Linked DNA regions of Homo sapiens: region 1 is linked to region 2. Evidence: promoter capture Hi-C in human tissues and cell types (Jung and others, 2019). All regions are on one chromosome and are shown on one strand. Each heading gives the region's core, a stretch centred on a gene start or on the middle of the fragment in contact. The rest is flanking DNA. Distances are from core to core; before and after follow the strand shown.

Region 1 (5,558 bases), core at 1,667-4,166, 130 kb after region 2:
AGCAGCTACCTCATCTGAAAAAGGGGACTAACACATGCACTGGATTAAATGAGAAAACTTATGTGGAGGAATGATTAGGAGAAGCTCAATGAATCTCATCTATTATGTTGTGAAGGCCTCAGTGGTCCAGGCTTGGAAGCTCTAACCTGATTTCTGGAGATTCTTTCTGTAGCCGCTAAGATTCAGCTGGGTGATGGTCTCTGACACATGCGCAACAGCCACCTGTACATGCTTTTCAGTGAAATCAAAACACCAGGAGAGGTTCAGCTCATCCAGTCTGCACAAAAGAGGGGTAATAAACAAAATATGAAACCATCACACGGGAATGAGTTTGCCTCAAACTGCAAACAAAGAAAATATAAAACCATGGATTCCTTATCATTTCATGCACAGAACACCTGCTTCTCTAACAGTAGCTACCTTTAGTCACCTAAGTATACCCTGTTTGCCCCTGAAAGTTGCCAGGGGATCAGAAGGGCCTTAGTGAATGTGCCTCCTCCTCGAAATGGAGAGAAGCACCTGATGGCTCAAACCTTATTCCAGTACTGCAGGTAGAAATGCCAGTCTTTTATGTTTGCTTTCTCAAACTACCAACCACCCAACACAGACTGAACAATCACTCAGGATGTTTTACGCAATTGATGGATTGCACTGAGGATTCCTAATAAAGAGATGCTGATATTGCAAAAAGCCACTTCGTCTTACTGTGCTTCTGCTAACTGAGCAAAAACGAGGGTTTCAGAGACAAAATACAACCATTAATCCCCACTCCCCACTTCTGGCACTGCTGACTAAATATAGGGCTATACATTTGATCTCACTGATAACACGCATATCCAGAGGCAATCTATTTTAAATGGACCATTAACAAGACACAGATTCAAATGCTGTACCATGGAGACCAAGGGATATTTTTAAAAAACACACATATGCCTAGTACTGTGTATTCCAAAAAGCATGTACTCCCCTCACTTAGCAATATCTGTAACTCTGTACCCTTTATGTGCTGACATTATTATGAAAGATATTGTTAATAGAATTGCCCAAATTTACGGTCTATATTTATAAAACACCAAATTTGATAAAAAATTGTAAGTTAGGTCTACAGATACCATAGGGGAAAAAACCTGAATGTACAGTTAAGTGTGAGCAAATTTCTTACAACCATACTGTTGATAGACACTACTACACTTCCCTTATTTTAACAGTTCCAAATAAACAAAAAAGAGATCACTATACAAGTATCACTTGCAAACTCAATTGACTTGGCTCCTGAGTTTGGACAGAAAGTTAGGAGGGCAAAAGATTTTGCATTCACCAAATCAAGAGCCTGGAAAGTACAAAAAGCTCAAAAAGTTCATCCCATTTTATACAGATGTGAGGGATAATTTTACGTTTGACATAAGAGTCTATAATCAAGTCTCACATCTTTCATACCTGGAACAGCTGCTTAGCAAAGTCTGCAGGGCAAATTCAGAGAATCCAGAACACCCAGAAAGGTTAAGTCGCACTAAATTTGAGTTTTTTGCGAGAGTACTGGAAAAAGAGAAAAACGTCAGAAGAAAAAGACCAGTAAGACACTATTCATCAACAACATTTAGATGAAAGCAGGCGAGTGTAGTTAAGCTCACAGGTCTTTGAGTCAGTGAGTTTAAAATGTATATCACTATCTCTCAGACATCAAACAGGATAATTTGCCTCAGTTTACTCATTTGTGAAATGGTATTATCAAACTTCTTGGCAGAGTTATTAAGAAGATTAAATGATATAATGTAATAAAAGACTTACTATGAAGCAAATACACAAGAATATCAATCAATGTACTTTTTGAATTAAAAAGACAATGGAATAAACATATATCCATTTCACCCATAATTAGAATTAGCTTGCAAACATCTACTTGTAAAATCACCAGGTTCTTTTGATTATACATCTCTCAAATTTGCCATCTTCTCTAATACATCCCCAAATGCCCTGTGTTAGTAAAACTTAGTGATTAAGAGTAAGAATTCTGGAATATTGTATCACTAGGTTCACATGTTGGTTCAGCCACCTACTAACAATGTGACCCTGGAAAAGACTTACTCAGTCTCCCTGTGTCTCAGTTTCCACAACTATAAAAAGGAAACAAGATCACACTTCATAGGGTTGCTGTCAGAATTAAATGAAAATGCATTTACAAAATTCACTATCTGGCACATAATACATGCCCCAAAACATTAGCTGCTATTACTGCTATCTGTTTTATATCAGACTTCACCTTTTCTCACTTGAACGAACACAGCAGTATCCTTAACTACTCTAGCTTCTTCTATCCTCGATGGACCCTCCATGGTACCTGGCAAGTTAATTTCCTAAATTTCAACTCTTGACTTGTTCCTTCCATTCTCAGAACAACTCTCTCCACCATCCTTCCCTTTTTTTATTTTTTTTTCAGATGGAGTTTTGCTCTTGTCACCTAGGCTGGAGTGCAATGTTGTGGTCTCAGCTCATGGCAACCTCCGCCTCCCGGGTTCAAGCGATTCTCCTGCCTCAGCCTCCTGAGTAGCTGGGATTACAGGTGCCTGCCACCACACCCAGCTAATTTTTGTATTTTTAGTAGAGACAGGATTTCACCATGTTGGCCAGGCTGGTCTCAAACTCCCAACCTCAGGTGATCTGCCCACCTTAGCCTCCCAAAGTGCTGGGATTACAGGTGTGAGCCACCACACCTGGCCCATGCTTCCCTCTTAATGGAAGAGTCCAGTCCATTCTTCTTACAGCAAGGCGTAGGGGCCCATTACAATCTGGTCCCTGACTCTCCTCACCTTGTCACTCTCCTCCCTTAGTCCTGTGCTCCAGCAACTTCCAACTACGTAAGAGTTTAGAACCACACAGGAAGTTTTACCTAGACTGGTTGCTTTGTCTTATTACCTAGAGATCTCCTACCTAGATATCTTCAATACTCAAGAGTCACTTCCTCTAACAAGGCGGCTCCTCGTGTGTTGCCACATATTCACTGAAACATTTAATAAACACACTGCATGGTAATTATCTGTCTTGCTCATAAATAGTTTACCTTCTTGCAAGAGAAAATAGACATGTCTTGCTCAATGTTTCCTCTTGCAAGAAGGTAAACTATAGCTTAACCAGCATTCACTAACAAGGTGGGAAAAGTTTTAGAGCATTCATTTTCTTCCCAAATAATACACATGCATTGTTCATCCTTGTACTTGTATCTCTAGAACCTAGCACAGGGCCTGGCATATAGTTAGCATTCAAGCTTTTGTTGCTTCAATGAGTCCTGAAAAGTTTTGCAGAAGCTAGAGCACTGCACTAGATATTTTCTGTATCCACCTGGATATGGCTAGAAGGGCACCCCAGTTATATACAGGGAAAAAAATTCATACACATAAAATCAACTGCCTTTGTGACACTCTGCCTGCCACTCACTTGACAATGGGATCCGAAAGCCGCAGGCCTTCCAGGCTTAGATTCTGCAACTTGGAACACTGAGACAGTATGCCGTGGAGGGTGGACACTTCTATAACTGAGTTCGATAGGTCCATGTGCTGTACACGAAAAGGGCTAAACACGGAGAGAAAAAAGGAGCTCCATAGGTGGCTCTCACGGGTACATCCAATTTCAAACCAGACCCCTCTTCTCCCCAAATGAGCAGCCAATCACAAACAAGACTCTAAATACATACTTCAAGCATTAACTATAGGGTCATAAAACATATTGCTACTAGTGTATTCCCATCTTCATTCATTTTAAAATGCAAGAGGATTTTTGCCAAGTACAGATGTTGCTGCCAATATAGTCCCACTTAGAAAATAACGAGTGGGCATCACAACAATGAGCTGGATGTGGGTGACAAGGAGATTAAGACCATAACGGCTCCTGGTTTCTGGCAGGGGTGAGTGGGTGAGCAGCAATAGAACAGGGAAGGTAGCGGAAGAGAAAGTTTTAAAGGGAGACCAGGCTGGGCGCAGTGGCTCACGCCTGTAATCACAACACTTTGAAAGGCTGAGTCCAGTGGATCACGATGTCAGGATATCAAGACCAGCCTGGCCAGCATGGTGAAACCCAGTCTCTACTAAAAATACAAAAAATTAGTTGGGCGTGGTGGCGCACACCTGTAGTCCCCAGGTGCTCGAGAGGCTGAGGCAGAATTGCTTGAACCTGGCAGGCAGAGGTTGCAATGAGCCGAGATCACGCCACTGCACTCCAGCCTGGGTGACACAGCAAGACTCCGTCTCAAAAAACAAAAACAATAAAAAAAAAGGGAGGCCAAATTTGAGTTATGCTAATATTGAAGTCCTTGTAAGAAATTCAGGTACAGACGTTTTTAGGTAATTAGAAATTTGGGAATTTGAAAGGGAGGGCCAAGCTATAGATGAGGAACTGAGAGTCCTGGGCATAAATGTGGGTGTAGAGGACACAGCTTGTCCAGGGACAGCATTTGGATTTGAAAAAGGTGGCAGCCAGGAACCGACCCTGGAGTGAACAGAGGAAATCACATATGTGAAGGAGACTGAGAAGGAACAGCCACAGGAGGAACAGGATAAAAAGCAGTGGGAGAGGCGGTCCTGACTACGGAAAGAAGGGAAAAAGTACTGGAGTCAGGAGACATGTTTTATCTTTAGCTTTGTTGTCTTCAGCTTGTTTTTCTGTTCAGTACCTAGTTATTCTACTATGTGATAGCAGTAACCTCAGTATTGCAAAATTATCAGAACAGAAAATTCTTTTTCAAAATATTCTACAAAACAAACAAAAAGAGGGCATTTTTTTCAGGTTCCAAATTTCTCCAAGACAAAAATCATAAACCCCAAGCTACAAACATGAAAAGACTCCTCACTTTTTTTTATTTATCAGAAATGGGCATTGGGGAAGTAACTGGGCACCCTTGCATCTGCCAGTGAGTGCTTTACTTGTGCCTGCCTTGTGGGACTCACAGTCCCCCTATCAGCTGAGGACTTGAGAAGACAAATGTGCCTCTTTCACCCTGGGAAGAGACTAACAGTAAACTTGAGTGAAATGGGAACAGTGTCATTGAAATCTATGCTAGGTTTTAGCACAAAGGCCCCATAGCAAAGTATGGAATTAACATCCCACACTGCACAGATAACCTACCATAGGCTTTAAGGCTGAAGAAAGAAAAAAAAAAAAAAAGCTTTGATCTGTTTCTACCTCGAAATTTAGAAATAGTCTTTTCCAGGGATTTTTCATCTTTACCTGAAATGTTCAGCCAATGGTTGGTCCATAAATGATCGTGGGCAGCGGAAGGCAATCACCCCTTGAGACAGCAACCGACCAGTCACATCCGGGTGCAGATTTTTACCTGTGAGGTCTAAGGTCTGCCATAGAGACTCATCAGACCTATAAAAGAGGAGATACTTAATTTGGCCAGTCGGTCACACTAAATGCTGGAAGCCCTCAACAACATTACTAACAGGTAGGACACTGCTGCTAAATCTCCTTGAAGCATATTCTAAAAGAACTTTTGTTTTTAAGTTGGCTATACAATTAGCTATGATATTTTTAAGGCACTAGAGAATTTTTCTTGATTTCACCAG
Region 2 (5,869 bases), core at 2,204-4,703:
CAGAAAATCTAAAATCTTGACACTAATTCATCAGCCTTCAACTATAATGATCATTTAATAATTCCTGTAGTACTTTGGGGATCATAATGAGGCTAATCCCAGCCACAGTTTTCATGTTTGCCTGCTGATAGGGGTCTTTAAACTTATTCTCTAAGAATGAGAGTGATAAATTCAATAATATTGCTTTTTATTTATATAGCACCTATCATTCCAAGCAGTCCAAAGGCCTTCAAATAATAGATATACTTGCAGACTAGACATCACAAATGCTTTTGAAACATGGCAGGTTATTAACTAAACAAGTAACTCACTTGTGGACTAATTTTAAATGCATGTGTCCTTGCTTTTTGAATATGGTAACTGAGAAAAGTAAACCCTCCTGTAAACCTAATACCATTTAGCTTGTTCAGCCACACACTGTGCTTTTTGAGGTATAAATTCTAGCAATAAAATATCAATTTTTTGAAGTATCGACCCCCAAAGTGCCAGCTGGTATGATTGATTATCTGTGATGCGCCATTTCACTCTACTCTTCCGGAAGTACAAAGACACAGGTTAAGCAGAGAAGATATGGCAGATAAGGAAAACCCCAGGAAAAGGAAACCAGTGGTATCCTTTTGTGGGGATCACAGAGACTTGATAAGGGAAGAAGTTTGGCCTTTATAGGATTCAAATTCATTTTTAATCAATTGTAAGTAAAAATGCCAAAGATGATTCACCTCTTTCTTGACCCAGCCAGACTTCTGCAATCTGATTTCTTGTTTTCATTTATGCAAAAAAAAGGAACAATATGCCCACTGTGAACTAATTTGGTGATGTTTCTGGAAAGTAAGTGGGGAAAGGGGGAAGCAAAGTAGTCCCCCATCCCACTGTAGCTGATATATCTGAGGTTATCTTATGTACTCCTGTAACGTGCTGCTTTCTGCCATGCTGGATGATTTCCAGTGGAAACTGGTAAATCAAACCAGAGACTCCTTCGAGAACAGCAATGGAACTTAACAGGCAGTGTAGGAACCCAGGATTCCCTTGACTCAGCTAATCCCTCACAAGGCCACTGCCTGGGACTGCCTCGTTGATGCACGAAAGAGGAACCAGTAGCATTCCTTTGTATCCTCCCTGTCCCCTTACGTTGTGGCACTTGAAATTACTGTTTAAGGAGGGTTTGGTTTCTTCGGCCCTCAAGAAAGATGTAATGAATGAAATAGTGGAACAAACCAGCTCCGTTTAAGCAGATAATGCTTGTTTATTTAGACTAGAGGACTTATAAAAATATATAGATTCCAGATTGCACCTTAGGCATCAGACTGTGCAGTTGGGGCTCGGGAATCTACATCTTTACAATATGGCCTAGGTAATTATGATTCTTAGCTAAGTTTGAAAACTGAGGGACTAGATTTTCAAATATACCCCTAAATCCTACCCAGATTTTAGTTTTAAATCTATTTCTTTCTCCTTAGGCTCTAGTCAGAGACAAAGTAGGATACTCCTCCCTTTCCCAGGCCTTTATATCCATAGAATGAGTGTTGAATAATTTATCCCATTGCTTAGCAAACATTTGTTTCATATGCTAAATGAAGACACAAACCCAGAAATGTTAAGTGGCTGGGTCAAGGTTGCACTGTATATGAATGAGAACACCATGGCAAGAAAGCTGGATGTCTTAGCCTCCATGGCCAGATGACCACCCTTTTTTTTTCTCTTTTTTTCCTGAGTAAGAAAAATGGAGGCATCTAGGGGGCTTCCTTGAAAAAATCAGACATAAATTAGGGTAAGTGTAGATGTTCATCTCCAAGCAACATTTCTCTCTGAGATGAACCTATAGATTAAAAAAGACTTGAGAAACATATCAACCAAATACAATGTGTGGACCTTTGGGTCCCAATTTGCAAAAAATGTAAAGATAAAAAAGTTTATGAGACAATCAGGAAAATAAGAACACTGTGTGGATGCTTAATTACATCAAATAATCATATTTAATTGTTATGTGCGTGACTATCTTATTATGGTTATCTATTTTTAAATCCTCACATTTTAGAAATATACACTGAAATATTTATTAATGCAATGATGTCTGGATGCTTCAACTCCAGTGGTGTAATAAGGGGGAGAACAGCTATAATGAAACACATAGTTTTAAGACACGATTGTCTATGAGTTGATAATATTGAAGCCAAGTGATGAGTATGCAGGGCTTATTGTGCTATTCTCTCCTATTCATGTATTTTTAAATTTTTTCATCATAAAACATTTTAAATGTATTTCTCAAAAGGGCTGGCTTACAGTTTTGTAGGTTATTTAACTTACCTGTATAATAATATGCTTATTAGTGAGGTACATAACTTGATAGAATAACAATAACTTTACATATTCAGGAAAAATCACCTTGTCTCTCCACCATGGCTTTTGTGGAAGATGAGATGAATAGCAGACATTTAAAGTAGAAACTATGACTCTCCAATAACAAGACTCTCTTTCAAAGTAGCACAACACTTCTGTCATCTGTTACACTGTGATTAGCCTAAAACTGCAGTAGATAGACTACTGAAACAATTAAAGCATTCAAGAATTATAAAAGATCAATCACCTACTTCATAAAAATTTTCATAAACCAGACTATACTTGGGGAATTGTTAATTGCCTCAAAGTAAAATGAGGGCAGCCACCCAGATCTGGTTAGGAGGTAAATTCATTACAGTGTCAAGTTTAACACCAATTTCCAAATGCACATAAGAAGCTGCAGAGTCCAGACTTCGAGGCTAAACAGCTCTGCCTTTCTCCTTAGTCCTGCCCACTACCTTCTTTCTGAATCTGCGAAGAGCTGTGACTCTTGAAGGGCAGGACCTACCAGCATTCATTATGACTTCAGTTATGGCAAGCTCTCAAGTTAAATTAATGGTGTTTGGGGTTTATGTTTCCAAACAGTAAGGAAATAGCCAACGAGTAAAACTGGAAATTACTTTCTCCTATGACCTAGAAGTAGCAATAAGAACTCTAAGTGGGAAACAGAAATAGGACTCTGGAAAGATAATGTTTTGTGTGTTTATTTTTCTTCCAGAACTCCAAATAGTTGCCTTGGCAGGAAGGCTGCCCTCTAACTGCTCCCTTCCGAAGACTAGGAGGTGTTTACAGAAATTGAAAGTTCCAGCAGTACATTTCCATGAGCTCATTACCAGTTCCATTTATACCTTTTAGATTTCACATGCACAAATGAATGTCCTTGCAGTATAAACTCCTGCTTTCAGCTTGCATTTTAATTACAAACAAAGTAGCAGAAATCAGGTACTCAGTTACTGTAACATAAGGGCAGGGCATCTTTAGAATCTGTGCTTTGTTCACTATTATTCAAAGCAGCTCCAATGCCCGTCTTGCCTGCCTCTTTATGCTAATCATCCTAGCCCACTTTGCTCCTCCTCCTTCCAGAGTCCCTTAAGAACTGTACACTTTCAGCTGTCACAGAGGGTAACTCAGATCAGGCTTAGAAATCACTTGACTTAACTCAGCAGCACTTTTTCTTTTCTTTGTGTCTGTATTATTTTAGCAGCCTTCTCTAAATACTGGAGGCATTGGATTTCATGTCGCCAAAAGGAATTTAAAAATGACAAAAGTGTAATCTGTTAGAAATAGTTAATTTGTAGAATTTTACTCTATAAGGAGGTTTAGTTTCAATTTGTTTTGAAATGAAGGAATTAAGTTGTGTTTTTAACCAAATGAATTGGCATCTTTATATTTAGGAGAAGTAACATTGGTGATTATTTATTTCAAGAATCATGACTGGAAAAAGCTTGGAAGTTTAGTAGAGGAGTATATGTTGTACATGCAAAGACAAGATCTGCATGAATCTATGTATTTCTGGGTGTCTGGTGAAGGCCACTTTAGGTGACTGGCCAGAGAAGGAGGTGCCCTAGTGATCCTTGAGTCACAGCCATACTGCTAGGACCATGACTACCATACCAAGAAAAGGCAGCAGCCACCTGCCTGGCAGTTTGCACACCTGTAAACTGAAGCTGCAGGAGGACCGGCGACAGCAAGGTGAGTCCGTCCAGCTCATGAGTTGCATATTCTGTGACCTTCTGTGCATTTGCATTCCAGGAAGAATGGTGGGCTGGTGAAGGACCCGGGGAAGCTCTGACATAATAGTGATGCATAAGGGTGGGTTAACTTGGATTCACTATTGATTTTTAGAGGACTATGGAAGACTGTCAAGAATGCATATTCCTTGGAGCTGTCATTCTGAAACTTACATGCTTAAACTTCTAGCCACTGTGTTTTTTAGAGTATGCTAGATTTTGTCTAATTCAAAACACCCATCTGAGCAAGGCTGAGTCAGCTACAAGGGGGATTTCAGCTGAGAGTAGCTTTAAGTTAGCCTGGAGCTTTCTCTACCATAGTACCACTGGTGGGACACTTTTTTCACTTTGTTTAAGCCTAAGTTTGTCTGGATCTCTGGCTCATTCATTGTGGGAAAAATAAATATATTCTTGACTCTTTCCTTTTTATGGTCCAGGGACATCTGGAGACAGTCAGGGAAAAGTGTCACATTTCACTTGCTGGGCACTCATTCAAACTAAACTATCTACCTCCCAGCCATTTTCACCATCAGTCTTTTTAAATTTTCAAATCCACTCTCCAGCCAGCTGAGTTAGTGTCAGATGGTTGACATGAATAGACAAGATGATCCCTCCAATCCACCCTGTCAGGGACAGCAAATGACACTTGTGGGAAAGGCTGGGTCTCTCATGGATGACATCATCACTCCACAGAGGTTAAGGATTCACCAGACACTTCTAACTTCTCCTCAATAACCTAGGATAGATCTTTTTATGTGTAGGTCTAGGCAATGAGCTCTTTAATTATTTTTCTGTAGACGCAGTTTTAGATTTCAGTGGTGTGGAGAGTGTTGGCTAAAGGGCCAAAACCTCCCATTTCCAAGATGGAATCTGTGTGCTAACAGTCACATGAATGTGTCAGGCCACCTCTCTGCATCGGTTCCTGGAGCTGTATAACATGACTTCATGCTCTACAAGGCTTAGCATAGTGTCGGCAGAAAATACTTCATGGTAAATGAAAACAATGTGAACTTTTAGACCATGCTTTACTACTAGTGCTCAAATAAATTTTGAACCAAGTACCCTAGAATGTAAAGTCCTGGAATGTGTCAGGGTTAAGGCATAGCACTGTAAAATGCTCTTGCTTCTCTGTTAGTAAACAATTCTAGTTTATCAGAGGTTTTTGTTTTCTGTTGACTTTGTATGAAATGTTAAAGTGACTTCCCCCCACTTCAATTGCTAATATGATAATTTTAATAGAAAATTTGGTGGGGGTGAGCCTAAAGAAGTCACCTGTAACCCCACCACCCAAAGATAATTGCTATTAACATTTTAATGTATAAACTTCTAGACTTTTCTTCTATGCACTTGTATGGATTATTCCTTTGCTTGCTTTTTAAACAATATAGACTTGTTCTGGATACTTTTGTAAACAGTGTTTTGTAAACTGCTTTTTAATTTAATGACAGAGGATGAACAAATTTCCAGGTCATTAAATATTCTTCTACAACCTTATTTTTAACAGTTGCACACTGTTCCTTTATATGGATGTAGCAAAATTCCCTTAGGCAATTCTCTACTGTTAGATATATTATTTATTTCTAATATTTTAACTATTATAATTAACACTGGACTGCACCTAAACTAATGAATAGATCTTTGCACTGATATGGGATTATTTTCTTCGCATAAATTCTTAGAAGTGAAATTGTGGAGTCAAAGGATTATACATTCTTAAAAATTGTTTTTGGCCAAGTGACCCTCCTATCAGCAGTGTTGGGGTATGTTCTCAGTAATACTATTATTTTTTAAACTCCTTCTCA

Evidence for each region. The method cuts DNA at HindIII sites, captures the fragments that hold promoters and counts their contacts. A contact is called where the count stands out against the background at its distance.
Region 1: a contact is called between a fragment that was not itself captured here and the fragment with the promoter of RANBP3L in region 2, in 1 of the 25 tissues and cell types used here (mesenchymal stem cells).

What each region holds. Positions count from the first base shown.
Region 1 is chr5:36,166,322-36,171,879 of GRCh38, reverse strand. SKP2 (S-phase kinase associated protein 2) reads right to left here. Exons shown (of 10, transcript NM_005983.4): 4 at 5,218-5,361; 5 at 3,433-3,567; 6 at 1,438-1,536; 7 at 147-277. Among named protein-coding and RNA genes, the nearest start is that of SKP2, 17 kb to the right of the region's middle. The HindIII fragment of the contact is 5,640 bases long and covers 97-5,558 here.
Region 2 is chr5:36,299,486-36,305,354 of GRCh38, reverse strand. RANBP3L (RAN binding protein 3 like) reads left to right here and starts at 3,453. Exons shown (of 14, transcript NM_145000.5): 1 at 3,453-4,029. The coding sequence starts at 3,939. The region is part of intron 1 of LOC124900962 (a long non-coding RNA gene); the gene reads right to left. The HindIII fragment of the contact is 10,640 bases long and covers 1-5,824 here.